Regions from separate parts of the Homo sapiens genome. Here region 1 is linked to region 2. Evidence: promoter capture Hi-C in 16 types of primary human blood cells and fetal thymus (Javierre and others, 2016). All regions are on one chromosome and are shown on one strand. Each heading gives the region's core, a stretch centred on a gene start or on the middle of the fragment in contact. The rest is flanking DNA. Distances are from core to core; before and after follow the strand shown. Region 1 overlaps LOC105374122 (a long non-coding RNA gene). Region 2 holds the start of KY (kyphoscoliosis peptidase).

What was found. Contacts are between HindIII fragments. The CHiCAGO score rates a contact against its expected background, and 5 or more counts as called.
Region 1: a fragment that was not itself captured here is called in contact with the fragment with the promoter of KY in region 2 in 1 of 17 cell types (endothelial precursors); the score reaches 5.3 in endothelial precursors.

The regions. Positions count from the first base shown.
Region 1 is chr3:135,499,985-135,507,293 of GRCh38, reverse strand. All of the region lies in intron 1 of LOC105374122 (a long non-coding RNA gene), which reads left to right. Among named protein-coding and RNA genes, the nearest start is that of PPP2R3A, 460 kb to the left of the region's middle. RefSeq lists a silencer at 3,373-3,667. The HindIII fragment of the contact is 5,171 bases long and covers 1,360-6,530 here.
Region 2 is chr3:134,649,675-134,656,139 of GRCh38, reverse strand. It overlaps KY (kyphoscoliosis peptidase), which reads left to right and starts at 5,118. Exons shown (of 11, transcript NM_178554.6): 1 at 5,118-5,315. The coding sequence starts at 5,180. It also overlaps a transcript of CEP63 not described here. The HindIII fragment of the contact is 8,919 bases long and covers 1-6,465 here.

The DNA.
Region 1 (7,309 bases), core at 2,696-5,195, 850 kb before region 2:
AAAAACACACTTTCACAGCAAATCATAAAGCCCCTGGGATTGTGTCATATTTAAACATATTACCTTGTTTCAAACATTCATTTATATTTTTGACTCCTTCTCCTCCATGTGCAATATTGTATTTTTAGTCCCACAGTTTTCTAGTGTTTGTCATGTGCCAGGCAGTGGGCTAGCCACATTAGGCACTGCATCCTGGAACAAGCAAAGCCACCTCTGTGCCGTTGCATCCCTCTTCTTGTTGTCCAGCTTCCTCCCACTCTATTGGCTACCAGTTCAGAATTCTCATTCTTGTGCTGTTCACTGTGTTGCTCTTTGCATCTCTCCTAGCCTATTAAGGACCTGGGGGCTTATACTCAAACAATGCCTCACCTTGCCCATTGAAATACAGCAGCAACAACGAGTCCTGCTGTGAGTGAGTAAGGCCGGGGTAAGAGGGGCAACCGACCCTTTCTTATCTCTGGATCCAGGTCCTATACCACACAATTGTTTTAACAGGCAAGGTTGGATATTTTTATATATTTTTATTTGCTAGTTAAGGCTTTCCTTATAGAAATTTTCTGTTTATGTCCCTTGCCTACTTATCTATTGAGGACTTTATTCTTTTATTTTTTAATCAATTTATATGAATTCTTTATGTAGCAAAGATATTAAACAATTTTTGCAATATTTCTGCAAAATTATTTCTCTGTCCAATATTTGCTTGTTTCCTTGGCTTTTGCTAGCCAGAAGATGTGTTTCCTGAGTGTTAGGTTTACTCCTATAAATAAGACGGACCATATTCAAATGTGTGTACCTTTCTCTTATCTTTACATAGCCTATAACATGTTTTCTCAGACAGTGTAAGTCTCACTCTGGAATGCTCAGATTAGCAGCCAAGGATGTATTCAGGGGGGAGGGAGAAATTGGATACTTCTGTGACAGGAATGGCTAGTGACATTTTCTCCCTGATGAGGTTCTATGTTCCACTCTTCCTTAATGCATTCTAAAATATTTATTGAGCATCTACTCTGTGCCAGGCATCACTGCCTTGTACATTCTAGGCCTTCGTTTAATGGCCACTGAGATTTAATTGAAGTTTGATGAGATGGATGCACTGTACACTATATCAGTAAAGTTGACTATAACCACGTTCTTAGAGTTATAGAGACTCTACAACTTTAGAGTCTGTAGAGATAATCTTGATTGAGCAAGACAGATATAGTTCCTCTCCTCCAGGGGTTCACAGAATATTGAAGAAGGCAGAGAAGTAAAAGAAAATTACAATAAAGTGTGGTAGGAGCTGTGATGGAGGACAGGGGGTGGGGACCTTGAAAATATATAGAGGGCACCTAGCTCAGATGTGAGGAACAAGGCAAAGCTTACTAGAGGTAGTGATATCCAAACAAAGACCTGGAGAATGTCTAAGAATGGCTGGGAGAACAAGATTGGAGATCAGAGTATTCTTGCAAAGGCACCAGCTCAAAAAACTCCTGAGGGTGAGAGAGAAAACTTGTGTCTTTGAGAATCCAAGGTGACAAAAAGCGAATCCTAGAGAAATGGGTTAAATATTATCATTATCAGCACTTGAATTATTTGACCCCCTTTCCTTTTGTTCCCCTACCCGTTTGTAAAATACACCACCATTATCATTTACTAATGAAAAGGGAGTTGGCCTGAAAATCAAGACACTTGGTTATTACTCCTTGTTCTGCCATAAAAGAGTTAGTTATGTGACTTTGGTGAGTTTAAGGTCCACTCTAGGCCTCTCTTCTGTTCTGTGAAAGCAGGGGACCAGGAAGAACAATGTCGCATACACATCACAGACAGTAGGCTGCATCTACTATCTTTGAGGCATAGTTGTTGAATGGCACTAGGGTCTGTCTTCTTCCCATTCATCATGTCTGTGTTGCTCAAGAAAGGCATCTAAACCTGAGGACAAATAGCCAGAGTCTAAGAAGAGGTGTTCCTATGCCCAGTGAACCAAATCCTCCAGCTAGAATCTGAACAGTCCCTACCCCCAACTCCATAAAACCTTACCCTGTGGGCTATTGATTTCCACAGACAGGAGTCAAGCCAATAAGTTAGAACTCCTGGAGGGCAGATAGGGACTGTTTGGGAGATTTTTCAGGCAGTACCTAATACATTAGGGGTCCTCAGTTAATATTCATTGAAGTTTCATTGAGGTTTGATGAGACAGATGAACCATACAATATGTCAATAAAGTTAAGTATTACCCTAACCACATTCTTAAAGTTATTAAAAATGTCAAGAGCAGGGTGATTTATTTCCTCATTCTATGGAAATATTGCAAAGAGAGTATGTATTAAAACGTGCAGAGCTTAAATAATAATGATTTATCTTTCTGACTCCATCTTGAGCTTAGTGTCAGTGACTGTTTCTGGTATCATCTGCCTCTTTCAGGTCTTTGGCCTTTTGACACCATTTTTAGCCCTAAGAGCAATGGGAGATTGCAGTACATGCTGGAGTTTAAGGAACTGGTGCAAATTCATTCCCCAGCCACCGCCTGTCTGTGGACGATCCCTAGCAGCTGCCAAAGTGTGACCTTTTACATTTGACATCATTGCCCCTGAGTAATAGGTACTTTAGCAGGGGAATGACAGAGCTCTGACCTTGAGCTGAAACCTGAAAAATGTGGTTCCTATTCTGACATAGTGTGTCTCCCAGGAGAGTTATAAGCAATAGCAACTGAGGGAACTCAGGAGGGAGAGGGAGTTAAGAGTTATTTGCTCTGGGAATTTGTGTTCATGTTGAATCCCTTGCAGCTGACTTGCAGCACAGCCTGCTGTGGAGCAGGGCTCCTGACAGGGCGAGCCTTGAGATTCTCCACCGTGGGTCTCAGCCACAGCTTCTCTAGGACACCAGGAGATACCGCCCCTCAGAGTATGTGCTTGTGTGTCTAAGATGCACATCCCTTAGGAGCTGGAATGGCACAAACAGCTTTGCACAGCTACAGCTAAGCACCATGTACCAAGAACCTCTTGTTAAAAAATAATTTTGATGCTTCGTAATAACTATGTGATTACAAACCCTGTGAAAAATGACAACGGTTAAAACAAAAACTAGCCTTGCAAGCTATGTGCAGCTTTGGCAAAGCATGTTCTCTTGAGTCCCCTCCCCAGCTGCTCAAGGGCACCCCTTCTTTCAGGATCTCCCCTCTGGACACGCTGCTGCCCAGGGCTTTGTGTACGCTGTACTCCAGCCTCCTGCCTTCCCCATAACCGGCCCAGCAATCGGTACCGTTCTCGGCCTCTCGGGGGCACCAGAGCTCTCTCATAGCAAGGTAGATGCTTCTTGAGACAAAAGACGGGGATTTTGGCTGCCAATTTGTCTTTAACATTGTGTAAGGTCTGTCTCTACACAGAGCAGGCCATATACAGACCCGAATCAGGGCGTGCATTGTTCTGGCTTTTCTGTTGCTGGGAGAGGGATAATGGTAGCACACGCCCTGAGGTGCAGGGGAGCTGGATTTTGGTGCCTTTTGCATCCGAGTCCACCTATGAGGGCGAGTGGCTGGAAGAACAGGTCCCTGGAGTCAGACCTCATAGGACAGGAGGCTTCTCTTCGCCCCTGCCTGATGCTTCATGGAGTCGCATTCAGCAGTGAAACAAAAGGTGCCAGAGAAACAAGGCAAGTGAAAGTGATAGGAGAAAACGGCAAAAGGAAAGGGGCAGGAAGAAAGAAAGAGAAAAAGGGATTGAAAGCTAGGAGCAAAATCAAGAATGAGACCAAGAAAAGCTAATGTATGGTGATTGTTCTTACCAGTGTTATGGATTTTGGAGCAAAACAAATTGTAGGAAGCAAACTTCCCCAAATGTGAGTACTTAATAAAAAAGAAAACAGAAGGATTGATAATGGAAATTAGGCTAATGAATAAACAAGCTGCTTAAAAAATAGGTTTCTCTCGCAGTCCGTTATTTTTAACTTAGTGGCAATTTGCATACTAGTTAATTTGCATATATTAAATACTGCTCCCCTTCTCCTTCCCACCTCCTCCACTTCAGAATAACATTTCATTACGGTGCTGCTGGGCCAGAGGACTCTGAGGCTCTGGAGAGTTTATTAATTTATCCAACACATGCTGTGTACATTTTTATCACTTGCCGCACAGTGGACCCGGTATCTTTGAAGTCATTAACAACACGAGGGGTGTTCTGCTCGAGGTATTCAAAAGAGAATGAGAAAAGCCAGCCTGCAATAACTGTACCAAAAAACAGGAAAAGATCGTGTATGGTTTATGTTCTTTCTAGGAATACAAAAATGAGCAAGGGATGACTCTCTCATCCGCATCAGAGAGCTTCTGTTTTGTTTATTTGTGTTTTTATTTATTTAAATTTTGAAGCAAAATGGAAATGATTCCCAGTGGGGTGCAGACATCCAAAAAAGCACTAGCCATGCATACTATTTCTCCTGCCTCTGCCCACACTGAAAGGCAGGCTAGAGAGTGTGGCTCTTGGGGGAACCTCCATTACTGCTGATGAGAATAATAAACCAACAGGTGAGGGCCACAAGCAGCCACTCTACTGTGGTCCTAGGGCTCTGCCTGCTGTCACTGCTGGGCGTCACGGGGACCATCCCTGGACTGCACCTCCTCCTTAGTGCGCTCTCCCAGGGCGCCCTCCCACCACTGTCTCTCTCCCTTGTAGCTTCGACCTACTACAATTTAGGGAACTACTAAATTGAGCTTCTACTGGCATACTTAAATGCCCTGTAGTGGGTCGTGCCACCTCCCATGGGAATAGAAGAAGGCTACCATTTCTAAGAAGGAGCTTTTAAAAAGTGACCACCTGCATTAATCCTGATGCCATTTTCTGATGCCATTTTCTAATGCCATCCTATCAGTTTAGCTATTTGTCCCTCTTTCTACTGTCCCAGGTGCTTAAGTTGAAGAGAAACCTGTGTATTTGTCTAGAGCTTGAAGTGTTTTCCCCAGATGCCAATGCAAATTAACAAATTTATTCAATCATTCATTCATCAAATATTTATTGAATGCCTACCATGTGCCAGACATTCTAGGCATGGGAAAAATGGAGCTTACATTCTCATGGGTGGAGACAGACAATAAACACATAAATGATAAAGTGATATTTTTCTAGAGTTAAAAACACTAAGAGGAAGGATAAGTAAGGTGTGGGGTAGCTAGTGACCTGAGCAAGGGAGCATTACTTTAGCTAAGCTCAGCAGGGATAGCATCTCTGAGGATGTGACATTTGAGCTATAACTAAGGAGAACTAGAAGTAGGCAGAGTTAATTCACGGTCTTGCGGCCATCTTTGTGCTTGGTTTGGTCCTAGTTGGGCTTTTAGTTCAGTGAATTTGCATTTAGCTGAAACAATCTGTCAGCCCCAATGTGTTCACCACCACTGATCCCAAGGTGAGTACTGGCTTGATGTTTCTGGCTTAGTGGAACAGCAGCTCTTTGGGCCCTTACACCATTCAGGTTACCTTTTGTGCAGAATGAGCAAGATTCAGACTTTGAATCTGAGAAGAAACTCCTCTGAAGGAGACAGTTATGTGCAATGGTTAAACCTGTCCGACAGCCTGGGTTGAATCTTACTAGGTTTGTGACTTTGGGTAAGTTACATTACCTCTCTGCAGTTTAGTTTCCCAACTTGTAAAGTGGATATAATAAACGTAGAGGACCTGGCATGTAATAAAGTCTCAATAAATGTGCCCAGGTTTTATTCTCCAGAACATGTAGACTTTCCTCCCTCCATCACCCTCAAGGATAAGGATTCTAGTCCATGAATGGAGGATGTGGAGACTTTTGATGTGTGATAGTAAGCATATACAAAGAAAAGAAAATCATCTAAGAGCAATTTCTAAGCCCCTTGTGTCTTGAATCAAGGAATCAGATAGCCTTGGGTTTGAAACCCACCTCCACCAGGTTATTAAAAATTTTGACTTCAAGCAAGTTACTTGATTATGACTCAGTTGCTCATTTGTAATATGGGGATAATCATAATGTCTACCTTATAATGCCATTACAAGGATTAATGATACAGTGTCTGTCAACCATAACACATAAATAAATGTTAGCTGCTATATTTAATATTATTTCACCTGCCTGGCCTGTGGCAATAAGTAGTTTGATCCTCTTGATTAACAAGCAATGCTTAAATTCTTCACATATTGTATTGATTTTTTTTTTTTTTTTTTTGCCAAATTACTCTCAAACTGGCTGCCACACTGCCATTTCAGTGTAGTTTTCTCCACCACCAATGCCTTTGTCCCTGCCTACGTCAATGTCTTCTTTCCCCAGGACAACTGCAATGGCCCTGGCTTGTCTCGCCACTTCTCCTCCTGCCCGCCTCCAAGTCCTTCACCACAAGGCAGGCAGAGGATCTTTGTAGAGTGTAAATCAGCCATCCAGTGGCTGTCATTCACTCCTCTAATAAAATTCAAACTCCTAACCCTGGCCTGCAGGCTTAATTGACCCTTCCCTTATATGTCCAACCTTAGCTCTTCTCACTTTCCTCCATGCCTGCTGTACTCTAGCCACACTGGCCTTTCTACCCTTAAACATGCCAAGCTTTTTCCTGCTTTAAGGTTTTCAGGCATGTTATTTCTTCTCCCAAAATGCCCTTTCTGTGCTGTGGTTGCTGGTATAATAGTGAGGGATTTCATTTGACTATGAATAACAGAACATTCTGATGACAGTACTTCCATATATACAGGGTTTTTTTCTTTTTCATTCAATTAGAAGTTTAAAGAGGTTGCCTTGGTCATTGGCTCAAAAATATGAGAGAAAAGATCCCTGTCTTTGCTTTTCCCTTTTGTTTGCAAGATGACTCCCATAGCACCAGCCATCTTATCCATATTTCAGATAAAAGAAGTTGCTGAAGAGAAGCAAGAAAGGGCAGTCCTTATATTAGGGAAGCAACACCTTCTCCGAAATTATAGCTTATACCTCAATGGCCAAAGCTGGGATATGCGTGTTTTAGTTAGGTACACTGTGCTGTGCACATAAGCAAAATAAGGAAGAAGTGAAATGTATTAGGCAAATGGTGGTGTCTGCCATAGCTGGCTTCTATTTTTTTGGGTTCAGGAAATGAGAGTGCATTTTCTTCTCAAAGAGGCCTTTTCTGAACATCTTGTCTAAGTAGTTTCGCTCCCTCTCATTATTCTCTGTCATAAGCCCTTTCTGTTTCCTTTGTAGTGCTTTTTATAATTGTTTAATTCTTTGTTTACTTGTTTGTCATATATCTTACCATAGGCACCATAAGGGCAGAGACTATGTCTGCTTGGCTTGCTACTGAATCCTTAGAACTCAGCTCAGAGCTGGGCATCAGTGGTTTCTCAAGAAATAATTC
Region 2 (6,465 bases), core at 3,869-6,368:
CATTTCATCCTATGGCATTGCACATAGTGAGGTCTCAAGAACAAGCCGTCATCTGTGCTGGGAAACGTCTTCATGGCAAACCTAGCAGAGGTGGAAAGCTCTCTTTACAGTGTAACCATCCTCACCCCAGAATGGTATGGAACTATCACAACACACTTCCTCTCCATCCCTGGCAGGGCTACTGCTCCTGAAGACTGCTGAATGCTCCCAGCCACCAACTTTTTACTACTGCCACTGCCACCAGTTCTCTCTCCACCCAAAACAACTGATGCCACAGAGCCTGTAAAATCTGTCCCCAAAGGCCCAGCTCAGGGCTTGAGCTCAAAGAATTTTTCCAAGAACCTCAACAGAGGTCTTGAAACCCCGAGTCAAGGTGTGTTCATCGTGATTGTTAAGACCATCTTCCCCATAGGCTGACAGCTGATCTTTTCCTTGGCTCGGGCACTATGCAGCCTCAGCTCATGGGCATGTTATGGCCATATAGGGTAGGGGGGCAGGTGTTGTTCAGCACATGAGCTTTGGAGCATACAGAGTTGGGTGGGGTGTCAAGGGTTGGGTGTCCCCTGCTACCTGTAAGACACATGTGAGACCTTGGGTAGGTCACATTAGGTTTCTAAACCTCTGTTTTCTCATCTATAAAATGGAGATAATGCAAAGGTTTATCCTACTGAATGCACACAGAGAGTTCACAAGTGCCATCAGGGTGGGAAGGAAGCAGAACTGTGCTGTGCCGTAACTCCTGCCAAACAGGCTGCAGCCGCACAGATCTGACATCAGTTCTTCAAGGAATGGATTCTGTGGCTCACTGAGGTTTTCTGTGTTTGAGAACAGTGGCCACAGAGCAGTGATATGAGAAGGAAGGCAACACGGAGGTCAGAGATGGCTCTGGTTCCTTCTATACTCCATCTCCAACTGTGAAACCACATCCATGAGACCTTCCCCAGAGCAGGACCCAGCAGGGGGTCTGGCTGGAATACAGGAAGTTGCCATAGCTATAACTACCCATAGCTAAGTACTTTATCTCATTTAATCCCAGCAACACCCTCACCCACTTGACAGATGAGGAAAACTGAGGCTCGGAGAGGTTAAGTACATTGTTCACTATCACCCTACTGGGAGACAGTGTCTGGAAACAGGTTTGCCTGGCATAACTGCTCCAGAGGGGATTGATATGATTTCCAAATTTGGTGGGTGTGGGACAAGAGCAGGGGTGAGCTTCCAAATTAACTATTGGGATTGTAAAAAGAGGCACCACAGAGAACTGGCATTCCCCAGAAGCTCCAAGGACTGGGGTACCCAGGAAGGCTTCAAAGTAGAGGGGAGGGAATGGCTCCAGTTCCTTCTATACCCGCCCTCCAACTGTGAAACCACATTCATGAGACCCTCCCCACAGGGTCTTGAAGGATGCTTAAACTGTACTTGCCAGGGAAGTCCAAAGGGGTTTTCCAGGCAGAAATCATAGCAATAGCAAAGGCTCAGAAGCAGAATCAAGCTAAGCCAGGCCAGTCAAGAGGCCATGGGAAGCCTACACTGGCTGAGGAAAGGTTTCTGGGAAAGGTATCCAGTATCCCATGTAAGGATTCACTCATCTCAGGGTAGGCTGAGGGAGTTAGGAGACTGGAACTTGGTCTGTTACTCTTCACCAACTCACAGAACTCTCTGTGTGCCTCTTCCCCACGTCATCAATGGAGAAAATTCCCTGCCAAAAGCCTTTATTGCATTGGCTTACTTACTCTATCTCTATAGAGAAGAGAGAAACTTGCCTCTTGGAATCCCAAGAGTGGTAAAAACAGCTATGACTGATGGTCCCAGCAAAACTACCATTTCTGAGGGAAAACAGTGGGGGTCAAAACACACTCCTCTCTGGTGACAGCTTCAACTGCCAGGAGCAAGCCCTGCCCCTGGTGAACCCTCCTTATCTCCAAGACAGCAGAACCAACTCAGGGCCCAGAACCATTCAGACAACTGACAAATCTCACCTTCTAGCAGAGGAGTATCGGATGCAGGGCTGCTGACAGCTGGATGTGTCTAAGTGTTGAATTTGACAAAGGTGACAATACAACTATTTTGACTGTCCTTTGTCTTTCTGTATCCTGGAATTCCCACTCATTTTGATTAAAATAAAGTTTTGCTCAAGAATGGAGAAAGCCCCTGGTTTGTCAGCTACTAAGACAAGGATGCAGATTAATTATTTAGGTCGGAATACAGAGAGCCTTGCATCTTTTTTATTCAAGATGGTAGCAGGATGGAGGGGCTAGTATGGTGTGTTTGGGGTGTAGAGGACATGGTTTCTGTTGAAGCATGTGTGGGTTTGGTAGGGAAAAAGGAAGAGATGGGTCTGGAGATTTGCAGGCTGAGCGTTCTGTTATTTGTCCCGTTGATTGTGTGAGCAGCTGGAGGGAGGATTTGAGCAGAAGGGATACAGCCTCTACTTGAATGATATCCCAGCCACCTCAGTGTTCTCTTGTCTCTCCTTCCCCTTTCCTGATACATCCAAATGCCTTCAGCCACATCACCTTCCCCATGGTGTCTCCCTCTCAGCCCAAGAATGGATAGTGGGGAAGAGGGGAAGCAGCTAAGTCAACCCAGGCCAAGGATGGGAATAGAGTTGGCATTAAGAAGAGCATCTCATCTATGCTCCTGGCAGGCCCCAGAAGCTAGGCTGTTGGACTGATGGCCATGGGTAAACCTCTGAGAAGAGGGTCTAGGTGTCAGGCACCATCAGGATCCAGGGGCAGCAGCATCTCCCAGAGCAGTCGAGGTGACTCCAATTTCAGGAGTTTGCTCCAAAGCGGTGTTCACACTGCAATTCTTTCCAAAGGAAACATTGGTCAATGTCTGGAGACATTCTAAGTTCTCACAATAGGGAAGTGAATGTGATTGGCATCTAATGCGTAGAGGCCAGGGATGCTGCTAGACATCCCACAGTGTACAGGAAAGCCCCACCAAAGAGAATTATCTGGCTCAAAATGTCAATAGCGCCAAGGATGAGAGGCCCTGCTCCGAAGCTGTCTTCAGACATAGCAGAGAGACAGGAGGCCTCCACACCATTTCCCCAGACCCCTGGCAGCACATTCCCAGGTCAGAATATCCTTCTCCAGAGGCAGTTCTGGGAGGGGGCACCAGAGTTTGCGAGTTCCTAGCAATGACACTTTCCAGCAGGAGAGCAAGGGTTGGGAGATGGGAATGCAAGTGTAAGGAAAGGGGACTTCAGCTCCCCCCACCATCACCAACACTCAGACCCATCCGGCAACCAAGGGTGCTGTACACAGGCTTCTAGTTGATTTCAGCACTTCAGACAACCTGACACTTGAAGGAGTTAGACAACACTGACTGGCCCAGGGTAGTTGGGGGGACTCTGGGACCTGAGATCTGCCTCAGCAATCTCCAACACCCCAAGAGCTTTGCATAATGCATAGTTCTTACTTCCCCAGCCACATAGAGAGTAAGTGTTAGCCAGCCTCCCAGGTGTGCGCGCGCGCGTGTGTGTGTGTGTGTGTGTACCTGCACACATACAGACAGGACAAGACTCACTTTAGCAGAAGGAAACCTGCCTTGGAAGTCAGCCATCTCCACTTGCCTGTCTATGGCCTCAGCTCTCTAGGGACTCCAGTTCAACATTACTGGAAGCCAACAACCTCTCCTTCCATCAGATGCCCAGTGGGTGAGTCAGGGGGTGGGGTGGTGGGGGGGGGCGCTGGTAATGCAATAAGACAACAGCCTTTACACGGAACCAAACTCTGAGCCACTGTTATTGGAGGAAGACCTTCAGAATCTCAGAGTGTGGCTGTGACATCTCTCCTGCTTCTCTGCTCCATCAGTCACTTGTCACTCCATCTTTCCCTTTCCTCACCCTTAAAATGAAGTAAGAATGACAGCTACCATATGAAGACCACTTTCTATACACCAGGCGCCTTACATTCATGCCATTCTCACAACAGCCATGTGAGAAATTTTTATCAACCCAGTGATAAGGGTGAGAAGGTGGAGGGAAAATGGCTGGTCCAAGGTCACACAGCCAGGAAGTGATGGAGCTGGTACTGGAATGCAGTCTGTGTGACACAGGCTGCTCCAAGGAGGATCTGGGAACTCTCAGGACCATGCTACAAGGTGGGGTCCATACACTCCAATGCGGGGAGGGCTCCCAGAGCAAAGGCCTCCATGTGGGGGTGCATTTATTAACAGTAGAAACTCGAATTAGGGGAACGCCCCCAGCAGGGTGGGCCCGTAGTGCCCAGGGGTACCAGGCAGAAGCCTATGTAAACACTCCTGAGACCTACAGCCAAACCCCTGCTGCTGTTGGCTGGGCAGGCCAGGCCGGGCTAAAAATAGAAGGCTTCTCAGGTCCAGCTCCCTGTGCCCCAGCCTCCTCCTCTCCCCCTCCCTCCTTCCCCACAGGGCAGGAGCCAGGCTTCTAGAACGAACCGAGACTTTAAGACTTTCGTTTCAGATCAAAGAGGATCGTTAGCTTGATACTCAATGGGCATGTTCCAAGTTCTACAGGGGCCGTAACTGGGGGGAGCTCCTGACTCCAACACCCCACCCAACTCCCTCCTAGGGAGAGAGAGCTGTCAACCTCCAAAACCAACCCAGGGAAGGAGTGAGGTCGAGGCCAAAACTTGGACAATCTCTGCACATCTTGCAATTCAATCTGGAGCCCCTTTGCTGTCTTTCCTTTTCCTGAATCTACTCTCAATGTTGACAGCACTGTGCGATTTCTGTATTTGCCAGGGGCTTCTCGTGGGAGGTCGGCTCCAGCCCTCTCGAGAACCCTCCGGAGACCGTGGGGATGAGGCAGCGCTCAGCCAGAGAAGCCCTGGAGCCCAGGACCAGCGCTTCAAGTGCACCGGGCGGGAGGCAGGGGCGCAGGGAGGGAGGCTCTGGACCGGCCGCCCCTGCTGACTATGGCCCCGGTGCAGGTCAAGGCTTGGGCCCGGGGATTTCCTTTCAAAGGTGACTTAGAGCCGCTTCATTAGGGTAGCGCCCTCCCAGGCGGGCCCTAATGGCGTGTTTGGCAGAGTCAGCGAAAAGCAGCGCCCTGCGGCTCCAGCGGCGGGGGAGCGCCCTCTTCCGCGCCCTCGCCCTCTCCCGTGTGGGGCAGCTGCGCGCACGGGGCCATTTGCAGCGCAAGCAGCCTAGCGTGCGGCCGCGGCGCCCAGGTCGGAAAGGAGGCGGCATCATGGAGCTGAAGAAGGACATCAACGCTGTATCTATCGACATGCTGCTGATCGTGCACTCGGAGAAGCGGCGCGCCGCACAGGGTACGCTCTCAGACCAGCAGGCGAACCCGAGCTCGCTGCTGCAGCGCGGAGGAGGTAACGCGCGCCCGACCCGGGTCCCCGGGTCCCCCGGCACCTTGGCCTCCTTGCCACAAGGGCCTGCCCGCCGGGGGGCGCCCATTGCTCCCCCGAACGAGGTCAGCGAACCCGACCCTCTCCCCCATGGCTGCCGTCGCTTCCCCGCAGTGGCACCGGCGTCCCGTGGCAACGCGCAGTCCCGTGGCAACGCGCAGCCCCGTGATTGCCCCAGTTTCACTCCCTGTGCAGGCCTGTGGGTGCTTCCGTCACCCCTGGGAGTCTTTTTCCTCCCAGCCACTCCCTAACGGGTGTAGAGCAAGATTGGAAGATACCCTGGAGGAAGGCGGCCAGAGCCTCAGGGCTGACTCATGGGTAGCAGAGGCCTGCTCCCCCCCACAGCACACTGCAGGGCACAGGGGACGCTGGGAAACCTTTGGGCTGAGTCAGACTTTTAGATGGGGAGCTCCCTGTGTGGCCTTGCACAATTTACAGCCTCAGTTTCTCCTTTCTTGAGACTTTCTCCCAGCCTCCTATAGATGGAAGGCATGAAAGGCGTAAAAGGAACGCAGGTTTGGATAGGGTAAGATTTGAAACCTGCTGTCTCCACTTGAACTTATCCATCAATTTTACTTGTCCTACACACTTTCTGGGTAAATTTGTAAGTTGTAGATTGGTAAAATAAAGTGACTGTTTATAGAGTGATTGTGGAAAGCAGGATCCGGGCCTCTCTGTTCTCCAGACGACAGAACACAATGTGAATGGAGTACAGAGGGATGATAATGGAGGTTAAATAAGCCCCTGAAAAGCCAGAGAACCTCAGGGTCCTGGATGGCAAGCTGTCTCCGAGGCTGGTGTGAGGATGCACTAGGCGGACTGCGGGCCAGTTCTTTAGGAGTTAGGCCTGACAGCCCATGCAGGAGAATGACTTCTGCCTCTCTCCTCCCCTCCAGCTCTGGAGCTCCTTGGAATTCCTGCTGCTGCTCTGCCCTTGGTTCTTCTGTCCCCAGAGCCTCTGTGCTCATTGAACATCCACCTTCCACCTGCCTTGCTTAAGTAATGCTGCTGTGGATGGCCTTGCCACTACCAGCCACATAGGCTGGAGCTGCCTCCAGAGCCCTGGGAACCTCTTGGGAAGGCAGGCAGGGGAAAGAAACAGAATCTAGAGGGC